Linked DNA regions of Homo sapiens: regions 1 and 3 are each linked to region 2. Evidence: promoter capture Hi-C in human tissues and cell types (Jung and others, 2019). All regions are on one chromosome and are shown on one strand. Each heading gives the region's core, a stretch centred on a gene start or on the middle of the fragment in contact. The rest is flanking DNA. Distances are from core to core; before and after follow the strand shown. Region 1 overlaps DIRC3 (disrupted in renal carcinoma 3). Region 2 holds the start of RPL37A (ribosomal protein L37a). Region 3 overlaps DIRC3 (disrupted in renal carcinoma 3).

What was found. Contacts are between HindIII fragments. The study calls those that stand out against the background at their distance.
Region 1: a fragment that was not itself captured here is called in contact with the fragment with the promoter of RPL37A in region 2 in 1 of the 25 tissues and cell types used here (neural progenitor cells).
Region 3: a contact is called between a fragment that was not itself captured here and the fragment with the promoter of RPL37A in region 2, in 2 of the 25 tissues and cell types used here (aorta and psoas muscle).

Annotation. Positions count from the first base shown.
Region 1 is chr2:217,620,344-217,623,379 of GRCh38, forward strand. The region is part of intron 2 of DIRC3 (disrupted in renal carcinoma 3); the gene reads right to left. Among named protein-coding and RNA genes, the nearest start is that of DIRC3, 170 kb to the right of the region's middle. The HindIII fragment of the contact is 3,436 bases long and covers 1-3,036 here.
Region 2 is chr2:216,497,412-216,500,591 of GRCh38, forward strand. RPL37A (ribosomal protein L37a) reads left to right here and starts at 1,433. Exons shown (of 4, transcript NM_000998.5): 1 at 1,433-1,466; 2 at 1,859-1,987; 3 at 2,538-2,620. The coding sequence starts at 1,464. It overlaps RPL37A-DT (RPL37A divergent transcript), which reads right to left and starts at 1,341. Exons shown (of 4, transcript NR_183317.1): 1 at 1,196-1,341. RefSeq lists enhancers at 850-939, 1,120-1,509. The HindIII fragment of the contact is 7,301 bases long and covers 1-3,180 here.
Region 3 is chr2:217,690,484-217,693,390 of GRCh38, forward strand. All of the region lies in intron 2 of DIRC3 (disrupted in renal carcinoma 3), which reads right to left. Among named protein-coding and RNA genes, the nearest start is that of DIRC3, 99 kb to the right of the region's middle. The HindIII fragment of the contact is 5,266 bases long and covers 1-2,907 here.

The DNA.
Region 1 (3,036 bases), core at 202-2,701, 1.1 Mb after region 2:
AATAGCTGCTATTCATTTAACTCTAGGGTTCGTCCAAGTGCTTTTACCAATATCATCTCATCTTTTAATGTTTGAAGCTTCAGCCCGACCTATCTTTCAAATTCCTTCTTTTTCTTTCCTTGAAGCAGAATCCCAAGGGATTACAATTATGTGGGTATATCTCAGAAAGTTAACAGCCATGTCTATCTCTTTTTCAGATCAGAAGGGTACAATTTTCTACTACTTAAAAAAGAGAGAGAGAGATCCTTTGCTCCTAACAGATTTTATCAGTTTCTAGGAATTACTTAAAATGCACTTATAATAGTAAATGTCAAAGATTAACACTTCTCAACTCCCTTAAGAGGTCCCCCCCCCAGTCATTTTTTCTGATACAAACTACTTTCTGTTAAGTATTACCTTACAAGGAATACAATTAATTGAAAGTAAAACATTTTAAAAGAAAATGAGGATTTTTTAATAAAGCATTTTAATTGCCAAATGATTTTCTCTCTAAAAATATTTGCATTCAAAAACACAGCAAAATCAGAGGGCAATGCTTAACTCAAAGGAATGACTGTAATAGATTTCAGGCTGTAAGAGGAATATTTGGGAAGGTGAGGGATGTTGTTTTTATCCCTCAAATCACCTCACACAGGCAATTGCCGCCTTTGTCTATCTATCTGGTTTATTGTGTTCATTGCTACCTCTTCAATCTCCTTCTGAATTCCTGGAATGGATAGACATTAAAATTCAAAGTGGTGTGAATCCTGGCTTCATCACTGACTCATTGAATAGTGTTTCTGAAACTACCTTTCTCAATTTCTTCATTGTTAAATATAAAATAGCACTACCTAATAACACTGTGTTGTTGCAAGGATAAAATTGGAACAGATGCAAAGCATCTAGTACCCTGCCCAACACACAGCAGGTAGTCCGTAAGTGTGGGTTATAGACCTGCATTTTTCTTGGCAACTTGTAGGCAAGAGAGGTAACCAGTAGCCCAATGGTATGTCTCTGTGATTTGTACTTAGCATGAATACGTGGGTGAAGGCTTGTCTTCTCTCCCCATGGAAACCCAAGAGGAGACTTCAGAAGACTGTTAGCTCCCCACCCACCCCCACCTTTCTGGCACTGAATCCCATTCATTCCACAATGGCAGCTGTCCTGGGCCCCATCTAAGGTGCCTGACCCTTGGAAAGGGAGGCCCAGAGAGCAGTCATTACTTCTTTGCAGCTGTGGTCACAAAACCACGTAAGAAAGTGGGACACAGAGAGAGATTTAGTAGACTGGGCTGGGGGCAAGTGGCCAGGAAGCAAACATGTACTCAGCCAAAATGCCAAGTTCAGTAGCTTGAATAAAAACCATCCTAACCTCCAAGGCCCCAAGGTCACCATCTGGAAATGGAAAATCACCGTCAATAAATTACTATGGACCACAGTACTGTGGGATTTCAAAAGAAACTGGACTGCATGAGTTCAAGCTTGGGTTCTCCCTTTAGCTGCCCCTGTGTTCTACTCTTTGAAAGGATAAAAGGCTCTTGGTCCCAAATGGCGACTGTAAATGCAGTGGAAGCTGGGGTGAGTTGCTATGATGAGGGTGGGGTTGCCCTTAATGCCCAGTTCGATAGCTTGACACTAAGTAGAGGGCCAAAGCCCACCATTGCTATTTTCTTCCCCCTTGGCTTCCCAGTGGGCAAAGTTGGCAGATCAGGGAGCACCTGTATCCACTGTGGATCCCTGCTATCCCTCCAACCTCCACCCTGCATTCCCCAAGCCCAGAAAAGAGACGCCCTCCTCCCCTCTCTGCAGTCCCCTAGGAATCTTTCACAGGTGGTCTGAAGTATCACCTGCAACCAGAGTGCTGATGAACTTCTGTCTGCCCTGCTGGGCTTTGTACGGTCCCTGAGTCTGGTCACCCCAGGCCCAAGCAGAAAGCTAAAAAACCTGGTGTTGCAGACATGAAGACAATGGGCCTGCTGGGCTGAAAGCATTCCAGTCTCCCACGTTCAGTAGGAAGGGGTGTTTGGCAGGGAGGAAAGGTCATTAATGCAGACAGTTTATGTTTTCCCAAGCCAGCATTCCTCACAAACAGCTGTGTTTATACAGAACTAGAGGAGAGGGAGAGAGAGACAAGAGAAAGGACAGTGTCCTAGGGATGACATCATTCTGTCCTGTCTGCTTCGACTCCCACCACTGGTGGTGGGGGCTGGGGGAAACGGCAGCAGGCTGGTGAACGTGCTTGGTGTAAGTACATGCAGAGTGTTTATATGTGAGTGTGTTTATTAGATATATATTTTTCCTACTCTCCACTCTGCTCCTTCCCCACTGGCTCCCAGAGCATCCTAATACATTTTGCAGAACACTATTTTTCCTGTAACAGCAACCTCAGAGGAAGGCGAGATTCAGGGGCTCATGTTCACTCCTCCTAATCTCTTTAACAAACCCCCCTCACAGAAGAAAAGCCTGACAGGAGGCAGAGTCATTAAAGTGAATTAAAATGCATCCAAGGAGAGATTAGCCCCAAAAACCATTCCCATATCAGACAAAGGCCCCTTTCATGCAGACTCCAGCCGCCTGGAGTCCTGTAAGCAGAGATTAGGGAACAAATTCTCAGAACCTAGAAGCACTGGCTCTTCAGGAAACGGGCCAACACTTAACCTCCCCTGGATAGAATCTCAAGAACTCAGCTTCTGCTTAAACTACACTTCGGCTTCTTAAGGCCCTCACTGTAAGGGAAAGGGGCTCCACTGAGGCACATGGATTCTCCCCAGCCCCTCTTTGTTGAGCTAAGTCTATCCCTAACACAGTCCAGATAACCAAGGCCCTCACCTGTTCTGAAACTCAACCAGAGGACATAATGTGATCATTCCCCAGCCTTCTGCATCAGGGTATCAGGTAGGAGGTCCTTCCATGAATGGTCCAAGCATAGTCCCTTCTGCACCGCATCTGCAAATATCCTCCTGAGCACCTATTTTGGTTCAAGCTGAGACTTCTGTGATGTGCATGTGAAGAGATGACTGGATATGATTTCTGCTTTCAAGGTAACCAGTAGAGGCTG
Region 2 (3,180 bases), core at 183-2,682:
CCAACAATTGTAACCATATGAAGTACATAGCTGTTTGCAAGTTGCTTTGATTTGATTTGATTCATATATATTTTTTGAGACAGAGTCTCACTCTGTTGTCCAGGCTGGACTGCAGTGGCGTGATGACAGCTTACTGCAGCCTCAACCTCCCAGGCTCAAATGATCTTCCCACCTCAGCCCAGGTATGCAAGTTGACTTTAATACAATTGTGAGGAAAAGTGAACAGGTGCAAAATTATTTGAGACAGTTAATATTAAGCTTTGGGAACGGAAGCTACTTGTTACCGGACTTCTGATTGGAATCAGGGCCACACAATGCCTTTCAGCTCCCATGGTCTTTCTTGGCCCTCTAATCATGGATTCTCTCTTACACTCTTATTCCAGTAGTTTTCTGAGCTTCTTATTCTCTGGATTAGCCATCCCCTGAAAAAAGGCAACCAAACTTCCTAGTGTGTGTGTTCTACGTGAAGAAAGAAGATCATGTGTCTAGTTCCAGAACACACCCTCCCCACCCCCGGCCTCAACCAGAAATCCAATTCTTCCCTGCTGACCCCTTTGAGAGACCTGGAGGGACAGAGAATTGACGGTGGGTAAAGGGTAAGATGTTGGAGTTTAAGGGTTCAGGCCTGGACCAGGAAGCTGTCTTAACAGCCTAGTGTGGGGCCATGGAAGTGAGTTCTGAAATGAAGTGGAAGGCAGGCCATCCGCACTGAGATGCAGCAGCTGGAACACAAAACTCCAAGGTGACTGTTAACTTTTCCCCAGCCTTCCAATCTCAGACTTTCCTCAGGAAACACCAGGCTCTTCTGAATTAGTCGCGAGCAGAACCATCGTCCTTTCCTTCAGAACTCTGACCAGTTTGAAACTGTCTAACTTCTTAATGTGGCTATATGATCGTTTGCAGCTGGCCTGCAACTTGTTCTGGGAATGGAACCTTGGATTTTAGTCACCACTGTCGCTAGCATCCTGCACAGTCAGCCACTTTTAGAGAGCATAATGCAGAGGGGGAAATAAATGAGATTTGGAATAGAGACGGGGTTTCACCCTGCTGGCCAGGCTGGTCTCGAACTCCTGACCCACCCCGCCTCCCAAAGTGTTAGAATCACAAGCGTGAGCCACCGCGCCCGGCCCCACAAATGTAAGATTTATGCACTTCTCCAAGCCAAGTGCTGTGCATCGAATGGAGGAACTCGTACCTTTGCAGGATTTTGTGATATATGTGAAATAATCCGGACATGCTTCTGCTATGGTTGTTTGTCGCCATAGTTTGCGAATCTGGGTAAACCTGGATGAGAGAGACGCCTTACAATTGCAAACATTTCTCAGGAGGCCGCCTGAAAACGCCCAAACCATAGAGCTCAGTTCCTAGCTAGGCCTCTACCAGCCACTTCCGCTCGTCCGCCTAATACCGCGCCTGCGCACCGCGTCTCTTCCTTTCTGGGCTCGGACCTAGGTCGCGGCGACATGGTGAGTGTGGGTCTCTGTGCGGCCTAGAACTCTATCTGCCTGCATCTGTCCTTGTTTTCTTCTCCCGCACCCATCTCCTCTCCTGCCTTACCCCGTGTTCTCTCCTGTCTCCATGCCTTTGCAGGAGACACCATTGTCGGAAGCTCCCCAAGGCGGAGGGGCGGGGGCGCCTTGGCTGGGCCTGGCGCGCTCCAGCCGGGTTAACGCCGGGCCTTCGGAGCGCGCGGCCAGCCCTGGGCACTGGTTTCGTTGGGTTGAATTTAGGGAAAACTAGGTCATATGTAATTCACATGTCGGTCACACGTCAGTGAGGTGGAGGAACGGTGTGTGGAGGCTCCAGGGCCTGCCTGGGTTCCAGGTCTATCACTGGTTTCTCCCTTCACTCTAAACAGGCCAAACGTACCAAGAAAGTCGGGATCGTCGGTAAATACGGGACCCGCTATGGGGCCTCCCTCCGGAAAATGGTGAAGAAAATTGAAATCAGCCAGCACGCCAAGTACACTTGCTCTTTCTGTGGCAAAGTAAGTAAGGCAAAGTCTCTGGTGAGAGGAGAGGGAGGGCAGGTTTCTTACCCAAGTGAGGCCTGACTTCAAGGTATTTTATAAGCCGTGTGCTGGTGGGCAGTTGGAATTACTCATACCGTTGATTATGAGTTTTAAGATAAAAGTGTTGATGGTAACTTCAGATTTTGTGAGACGTTTTTCATTTAAAGAAAACCGCTTAAACGTTAATGGGTAAAATAATCATTTGACAGAGTGCCCCCAGCCTAAGCCAAACCTGCTTTGTGGGAAATGATTCCATCAGTTTTGTCTACTGATGTTTCTGCACCAACTCCCAAGATGTCTGTGCATCTAATACCATTCTACTTGTTCTGCGAGGGATTTTTGTTTGATAAAGGTTTGAACGTTTATGTGCAAAATACTGCATTACAGCAATCCCTGTTTTGTTTTTGAGGGAGAAAGGGAGGCTTTCACATCCCTGACAATAAGGTGAATCCAAATTTAGACTTCTGGATGCTTGTAAGAGAAAATACTTACTTGGTTCATAGTGAAAATTGGTTCTCTTTTATAGACCAAGATGAAGAGACGAGCTGTGGGGATCTGGCACTGTGGTTCCTGCATGAAGACAGTGGCTGGCGGTGCCTGGACGTACAAGTGAGTCTAGTTCCTTGTGGTATTTGGAAGTGTGTGGACCACATAGGCCCAAATTCCAGGTTGCTGCTGGATGGGCTAGTTTTAACACTTTCTCAGGACTGAGAGAATAAGGATGCCTTTGTATTTTCAGGATTCTTCCGTGGTGGTTTATTTTCAGTTATTGAAAGAGTAAACACAAAACTACCAAAATAGAAGTCGGAAATCTAATTCACAGACTACTTTAGAATTTGATGGTCACTGGGCACATTGTTGTGAACATTGTCATGATACTGTGCAGGTCCATTAGTGGGGCTGAATCTACTGAACGTTGATTTGCACTGCAAGTTTTGATAAAAATAGGTGAAGGGGTCAGTTAGTTCAAAACTGTATTTGGAACTTGAGGCCATCAGGACCACCACAGTTTCGTCTTTCTGAACAGTATTAGACTGCTGCAGGTTTGTGAATCTGCAACTCAGTATCACCTGACAGGGCGATACTACAAACACTATACTACAAACTAGCATCTAGACCTGTGTTGTCCAATACACTAAGCACATATATGGCTAGTGTAATTAAAGAAT
Region 3 (2,907 bases), core at 308-2,807, 1.2 Mb after region 2:
CTCTCTGTCTTCATCTATTGCTACTTGTCATCTTGTAGTCGACTAAACAGTTTTCAGAAATGCCCTCGTCTCTCCCACCTCCAGGCCTTTGCACATACTATCCCCTCTGCCTAGAACTAGTTCCCTTTTTCTTTAGCTAATTTCTACTTGATTCAGATCACAGTTCTTAGATCTTCCAGGAGAAAACCTCCTCTGGCTTCTGCAGACCTGTTTAGAGTTCCCCTAACAGCACTCTGTTCTTCCTCTCTCAAAGCACTTATTGTAAGTGCTAGTGAAAAATTTGCTATTTTCCCAGCTAGATGTTAAGCTTTAAGAGGCTAGGTCTAACTCACATGCCCAGAAATTCCCAAAGTACTGAAGTACACGTGATAGGGTCTCAAATATTTTAAGTTTGCTAGGTCTGTCCTATATCCTGAAAATACACCAAGTACAAGGCAGGCCAGCCCTCACAGGGCTCACACTCTAAAGATAATAAACCAGTGAATCAATGCAGTTAGAGTTATGAAGAGGACCACAGAGGAAAGAAACAGAGGGCTGTCATAGAGCATTAATATTGTTTGGATGTCTTTCCCTTCCAAATCTCATGTTGAAATGTGATTCCTAATGTTGGAAGTGGGGCCTGGTGAGAGGTGATTGGATCTTGGGGGCGGATCCCTTATTAATGGCTTAGCACCATCCCCTTGGTGATAAGTGAGTTCTCACTCTGGTAATTCATATGAGAGCTGGTTGTTTAAAAGGGTGTGGCACCTCCCCCATCTCTTGCTTCCTCACTCACCATGTGACATGATTGCTCCTGCTTCGCCTTCCACCTTGAGTAAAAGCTTCCCGAAGCCTCACCAGAAGCCAAGCAGATTCTGGTGCCAAGCTTCCTGTACAGCCTGCAGGACCAATAAAACCAATACAACCTTCTTTCTTTATAAATTATCCAGTCTCAGTATTGCTTTATAGCAATGCATTGGACTAACACAAGCATATTGGGGGAGGTAGAGAGAGAACGCCTACTTTAGACATACAGTGGTCAGGGAAGGCTTCTCTGAGAAGCTGACATTGAACAGGAAGCTGAAGAATGAAAACCAGCCAGTCACGCAAAGGCCAGGGAAGTGAAGGCTCTAGGCAGGAAAAAGCCTACCATATTCTAGGGATGTCAGAAGGTTAATGTGGTTGAGCAAAGAGGAGAAATAACATAGTCTTCATTCTATCAAGCCCACATTGCCAGAAGCTTATACCACAGTGTCTTTATCGGCTGTGGTCTGAAGTCACTCTAGTGCAGTGGTTTGTTCCATCCAGTGGGAAGGGCACATGGTAACAGAGAAGCCCCCACACGGCATTGCCTTTTCTACAAAACATTTCAAAGCCCTAAGGCCCTGCCTTCCAAATCCAAATTCCAACATAGTGAGGTGAGCCTATTCTTATTAAAAATGTTCCATGTGCTAAAACTCATTAACAACCGGAAGAAGAATGAGAATGAGATTATTATCAGTCCCTTCTTGCCTGGATGGAAAAAGGGTACGATGAGAAAACAGGACTTCTACTGTCTTTCCAACCATCAAACCAAGATGTATCTCTTTGAGAACATGGGCTCTGCAGGTGTCCCTGGGATGAGTCATGCCCTTTCCAAAGATTAAGCACTGAGGCCACCCTTGACGTCATGGCAACCGAGCCACAACCACTTTATTCCTAGGCCAAGTTTGCACCTCTGCACACTAGACCTGCAATGTGCCTTGCAGTCTGCTCCTGGTTGGACTCCACCTTTTCCCTGCCCCAGAACAACACCCAGGATACATTGATTGGGAGTAACTATGGATAACAGCAGGAACGCTTGAGCCAAGGACTGTTTACATGTCCTTTGAACAACCAGTTCTCCTGCTCCACCATCAGAGCCAAAACTCCCTCCCTCCATTCCCCTCTTTCTCCAGCCCTCAGAGGCGGTCCACATTCCTAGTTTAGGCAATGCATTCTTGCTGCCCTGACACATACCACGAGAGTGGGCCAGGCAGGCTCTTGAGAGAGCCAAGCTACCCACCCAACACTTGGCTTTGGCTGAGGGCATCAAGCCAGGCCATAGCATCATAGCAGCTAAGGTCCCTTGATAAGCCACATCAGCTCAACTCTTTAAAATTGATCATGGCATTGCTGATGGAGCTGATAAGAGTTACATCAGACTATCCCTCCAAAGCCCAGATTGAATGACTACTAATTTTGATAGGCCTGGCAGTTAACACTCCCCTCACTGTGGAGGCCACTGCTAGATCCAAATCTGGAATGGGTTTCAGGGAGGGGAGGGTTGTTGATTACAGGATGAGCCATAACATAATCAGAACTTCTGGGCATGAAAAGATCTCCAAGGCAGCGTTTGGGTTCAGTTTCATCACTACTAAGTCACCACCGATCCTAGATGATTTTTGAACCAATATCTAATGTCAATGCCTTCTATGAATAGGATTCATTTATTTATTCATCTATTTCTTTAAAAGGCATATTTAGCACCTTTGTATGTCATATACTGTGCTAGATATGCAGGATAATGAGATGAATATGACATGTTTCTTGCCTTCAAAGAGCTCTGTAAAGGGTGATGCATAGGATTATTTCTTGAGAAGACAGGGCTGAAAGACCACTATATGAACCTTCTAAAGTCACTAACTACCAAAAATGTCATGACTAGCTAAGATAAGCATCCATCTGCAGGGACTGTGATGAGGATGCTGGTGGGCATATTGCTTTTATATTCCGGTTACTTATTATAATCTTAATAACTAAATTTGTGTGCTCATGATATACCAGAAATACTTCTAAATGCTCCACATGCATTATCTAATACTAACAAACCTGCATGGTATATGTTGTCATTCTCTTATTTTCACCCTGACTTTACAAATGCAGAAACTGAGGCTTAGATTGACTTAT